Regions from separate parts of the Homo sapiens genome. Here region 1 is linked to region 2. Evidence: promoter capture Hi-C in 16 types of primary human blood cells and fetal thymus (Javierre and others, 2016). All regions are on one chromosome and are shown on one strand. Each heading gives the region's core, a stretch centred on a gene start or on the middle of the fragment in contact. The rest is flanking DNA. Distances are from core to core; before and after follow the strand shown.

What was found. Contacts are between HindIII fragments. The CHiCAGO score rates a contact against its expected background, and 5 or more counts as called.
Region 1: a fragment that was not itself captured here is called in contact with the fragment with the promoter of IL1B in region 2 in 4 of 17 cell types (M2 macrophages, monocytes, M1 macrophages and 1 more); the score reaches 6.7 in M2 macrophages.

What each region holds. Positions count from the first base shown.
Region 1 is chr2:112,801,974-112,804,673 of GRCh38, reverse strand. No RefSeq gene overlaps it. Among named protein-coding and RNA genes, the nearest start is that of IL1A, 19 kb to the right of the region's middle. RefSeq lists an enhancer at 764-823. The HindIII fragment of the contact is 4,248 bases long and covers 1-2,700 here.
Region 2 is chr2:112,835,314-112,838,097 of GRCh38, reverse strand. It overlaps IL1B (interleukin 1 beta), which reads left to right and starts at 1,319. Exons shown (of 7, transcript NM_000576.3): 1 at 1,319-1,390; 2 at 1,854-1,915; 3 at 2,481-2,532. The coding sequence starts at 1,869. The HindIII fragment of the contact is 1,771 bases long and covers 1,192-2,784 here.

The DNA.
Region 1 (2,700 bases), core at 149-2,648, 34 kb after region 2:
AACTCCCTGCCCCCTAACATCAGACAACTACTGATGCATTCTGTCTCCATAGGCTCATTTACATTTTCTAGAATTTTACATAAATAAAATGACAGAGTATATACTCCTTCATGTATGGCTTCTTTCAGCCCAATTATGTCAAGATTCATGCTTATGGCTGTGCGTATCCTTAGCCCATCTCTTTGTCTTGCTGAGTAGGATACCATTGCATAGACAGACCACAGCTTGCTCATCCATTCACTCTTGACAACGTTGAATTGTCTCTGTTTTTTGCAATGACAAATAAGGTTGCTATGTACATTCCTGTATAGACATTTGTAAAAGCACAGCATTTCATTTCTCTTGGGTAAAGACCTAGAAGTGGAAGGGCTGAGTCATATGGTAAATATATATGTCTAACTTTTTAAGAAACCGTCAAACTGTTACCCAAAGGGATTGTACCATTTTACATCCCCACCAGCAGTGTATGAAAGTTCCCGTTCTTCCACATCCTCACCAATATTTGGTGTGGTCAGTCTTTTTAATTTTGGACATGCTAATGAGTGCAAAATGAGGCCCAGAGTGTCTGAAGTTACATTTGTATCCTTTTTGGCATCCAAAACAGGTGTCAAGCATAGAAAAAACACTTGTTCCTTGAATGGTCAGTCATTTACAAGTGGAATTCATTACAAACCGGTAGTTCTACTGGGTTAAACTATGCCTTACTGTCAACAGGCACATACACATACAGACAGACAGGAAGGCACAGAGACAAGGCAGAGCATTGATAAGAAGGTGACCTGGGCTCTAGCTCTGGCCTATCACCTAGTAAAATATTAGTTAAGTAGCCATGAGTAACTCACTTAACTTACCACAGGCTCCATTTTCTTATCTGTAAAATAGGAACATTGAAACAGCTAATCCCCAAGGTTTGTGGATAATCAGAATTACAAAGATCAATGACATTTCTATGAGAGAAACATATTTCCAAGTATTTGATGGAGTACATCAGACACAAAGGAAAGGAAACTGAATATTTTTGAGGTTTTTTTTTTTTACCAAGAAATTCACATTTTGTTAAATTTTCAGAACTACCTCCTGAGGAAAGTGTAGCTGCACCCATTTAGAATGATAGAAAACATCAATCTGTCTGATTCCAAAGCCAAGTTCTTGCTACAACGAGAAATGAAACAACTGGATCCCTACAGATGCAGAGACCTGGGCCCCACAAATGTGAATTCTGTTCCCCTACCGAATAGAGTTACAGTTCCATAATACAGTACTCCCTCACTTTTCCACAGTCTCACATTCCACAGTTTCAGTTACCCACAGTCAACTGCAATCCAAAAATATTAATGAAAAATTCCAAAAATAAACAATTCAGAAGTTTTAAATTGTGCTCCATTCTGAGTAGCGTGATAAAATCTTGTGCCACCATCCCACCTGTCCAGCTTATCGTTAGTCATTGACATCGTCTGCTCCTGACATCCAACCATTGACATCATCATGACTCTATGATCCAGGATCACCGAAGCAGATGACCCTCCTTCTGACATATCATCAGGCCAATATCAGCCTAAACACTGCATCACTATGCCCACATCAGTCACCTCACTTCATCTCATCAAGGAGGCAATGGATCACCTCACATCATCACAAGAAGAAGAGTGGGTATAGAACAATAAGATAATTTTGGGGCAGGCATGGTGGCTCACGCTTGTAATCCCAATACTTTGGGAGGCCAAGGCAGGAGGATCCCTTGGGCCCAGGCATTCAAAACCAGCCTGGGAAACATAGTGAGACCTCCTCTCTCTGCAAAAAAAAATAAACAAAATTATCCAGATACAGTGGTGCATGCCTGTGGTCCCAGCTACTCAGGAGGCTAAAGTGGGAGGATCACTTGGTCCCAGGAGGTCGAGGCAGCAGTAAGCTGTGATCGTGCCACTGCACTCCAGCCTGGGCAATAAAGTGAGACCCTGTCTCAAAAAAAAAAGGTAATTTTGAGAAAGAGACCACATTCATACAACTTTTATTATAGTATATTGTTAGAATTGTTCTATTTCATTACTTATTGTTGTTAATTTCTTTCTTTGCCTAATTTTTTTTTTTTTTTGAGTCGGAGTTTCACTCTTGTTGCCCAGGCTGTAGTGCAATGAGACGATCTCAGCTCACCGCAAATCCCGCCTCCCGGGTTCAAGTGATTCTCCTGCCTCAGCCTCCCGAGTAGCTGGGATTACAGGCGCCTGCCACCATGCCCAGCTAATTTTGTATTTTTAGTAGAGGCGGGGTTTCTCCATGTTGGTCAGGCTGGTCTCGAACTCCTGACCTCAGGTGAGGCCTCAGCCTCCTAAAGTGCTGGGATTACAGGCTTGAGCCACTGCGCCTGGCCTCTTTGCCTAATTTATAAATTAAACATTGTCACAGGCATGTATTAATTTATAGGAAAATCATAGACATATAGAGTTGGGTACTATCCACAGTTTCAGGCATTCACTGAGGGGCTTGGAACATGCCCTCCTCAGATGAGGGGGGACTACTGTCATCTCCTCAATCATTCTTGATTCAATCCTCAACACAAATGGTTTGGCCAGGTCTTGCCTCTGGAGACAAAATTGCTAAGGATTTAGAGGGGAAAAAATGTAGTTCACTGGGAAAGTCACCTCTGCTCCACTGGACAGCAACTTAAAACCCAGGCCATGACAAGTAGAAAGGCCACCCCCA
Region 2 (2,784 bases), core at 70-2,569:
AGGAACCAGGAGGAGCAAGGTTTCAACTCAGTGCTATAAGAAGTGTTACAGGCTGGACACGGTGGCTCACGCCTGTAATCCCAACACTTTGGGAGGCCGAGGCGGGCAGATCACAAGGTCAGGAGATCGAGACCATCCTGGCTAACATGGTGAAACCCTGTCTCTACTAAAAATACAAAAAATTAGCCGGGCGTGGCGGCAGGTGCCTGTAGTCCCAGCTGCTGGGGAGGCTGAGGCAGGAGAATGGTGTGAACCCGGGAGGCGGAACTTGCAGGGGGCCGAGATCGTGCCACTGCACTCCAGCCTGGGCGACAGAGTGAGACTCTGTCTCAAAAAAAAAAAAAAAGTGTTATGATGCAGACCTGTCAAAGAGGCAAAGGAGGGTGTTCCTACACTCCAGGCACTGTTCATAACCTGGACTCTCATTCATTCTACAAATGGAGGGCTCCCCTGGGCAGTACCCTGGAGCAGGCACTTTGCTGGTGTCTCGGTTAAAGAGAAACTGATAACTCTTGGTTGGTATTACCAAGAGATAGAGTCTCAGATGGATATTCTTACAGAAACAATATTCCACTTTTCAGAGTTCACCAAAAAATCATTTTAGGCAGAGCTCATCTGGCATTGATCTGGTTCATCCATGAGATTGGCTAGGGTAACAGCACCTGGTCTTGCAGGGTTGTGTGAGCTTATCTCCAGGGTTGCCCCAACTCCGTCAGGAGCCTGAACCCTGCATACCGTATGTTCTCTGCCCCAGCCAAGAAAGGTCAATTTTCTCCTCAGAGGCTCCTGCAATTGACAGAGAGCTCCTGAGGCAGAGAACAGCACCCAAGGTAGAGACCCACACCCTCAATACAGACAGGGAGGGCTATTGGCCCTTCATTGTACCCATTTATCCATCTGTAAGTGGGAAGATTCCTAAACTTAAGTACAAAGAAGTGAATGAAGAAAAGTATGTGCATGTATAAATCTGTGTGTCTTCCACTTTGTCCCACATATACTAAATTTAAACATTCTTCTAACGTGGGAAAATCCAGTATTTTAATGTGGACATCAACTGCACAACGATTGTCAGGAAAACAATGCATATTTGCATGGTGATACATTTGCAAAATGTGTCATAGTTTGCTACTCCTTGCCCTTCCATGAACCAGAGAATTATCTCAGTTTATTAGTCCCCTCCCCTAAGAAGCTTCCACCAATACTCTTTTCCCCTTTCCTTTAACTTGATTGTGAAATCAGGTATTCAACAGAGAAATTTCTCAGCCTCCTACTTCTGCTTTTGAAAGCCATAAAAACAGCGAGGGAGAAACTGGCAGATACCAAACCTCTTCGAGGCACAAGGCACAACAGGCTGCTCTGGGATTCTCTTCAGCCAATCTTCATTGCTCAAGTATGACTTTAATCTTCCTTACAACTAGGTGCTAAGGGAGTCTCTCTGTCTCTCTGCCTCTTTGTGTGTATGCATATTCTCTCTCTCTCTCTCTTTCTTTCTCTGTCTCTCCCTCTCCTTCCCTCTCTGCCTCCCTCTCTCAGCTTTTTGCAAAAATGCCAGGTGTAATATAATGCTTATGACTCGGGAAATATTCTGGGAATGGATACTGCTTATCTAACAGCTGACACCCTAAAGGTTAGTGTCAAAGCCTCTGCTCCAGCTCTCCTAGCCAATACATTGCTAGTTGGGGTTTGGTTTAGCAAATGCTTTTCTCTAGACCCAAAGGACTTCTCTTTCACACATTCATTCATTTACTCAGAGATCATTTCTTTGCATGACTGCCATGCACTGGATGCTGAGAGAAATCACACATGAACGTAGCCGTCATGGGGAAGTCACTCATTTTCTCCTTTTTACACAGGTGTCTGAAGCAGCCATGGCAGAAGTACCTGAGCTCGCCAGTGAAATGATGGCTTATTACAGGTCAGTGGAGACGCTGAGACCAGTAACATGAGCAGGTCTCCTCTTTCAAGAGTAGAGTGTTATCTGTGCTTGGAGACCAGATTTTTCCCCTAAATTGCCTCTTTCAGTGGCAAACAGGGTGCCAAGTAAATCTGATTTAAAGACTACTTTCCCATTACAAGTCCCTCCAGCCTTGGGACCTGGAGGCTATCCAGATGTGTTGTTGCAAGGGCTTCCTGCAGAGGCAAATGGGGAGAAAAGACTCCAAGCCCACAATACAAGGAATCCCTTTGCAAAGTGTGGCTTGGAGGGAGAGGGAGAGCTCAGATTTTAGCTGACTCTGCTGGGCTAGAGGTTAGGCCTCAAGATCCAACAGGGAGCACCCAGGGTGCCCACCTGCCAGGCCTAGAATCTGCCTTCTGGACTGTTCTGCGCATATCACTGTGAAACTTGCCAGGTGTTTCAGGCAGCTTTGAGAGGCAGGCTGTTTGCAGTTTCTTATGAACAGTCAAGTCTTGTACACAGGGAAGGAAAAATAAACCTGTTTAGAAGACATAATTGAGACATGTCCCTGTTTTTATTACAGTGGCAATGAGGATGACTTGTTCTTTGAAGCTGATGGCCCTAAACAGATGAAGGTAAGACTATGGGTTTAACTCCCAACCCAAGGAAGGGCTCTAACACAGGGAAAGCTCAAAGAAGGGAGTTCTGGGCCACTTTGATGCCATGGTATTTTGTTTTAGAAAGACTTTAACCTCTTCCAGTGAGACACAGGCTGCACCACTTGCTGACCTGGCCACTTGGTCATCATATCACCACAGTCACTCACTAACGTTGGTGGTGGTGGCCACACTTGGTGGTGACAGGGGAGGAGTAGTGATAATGTTTCC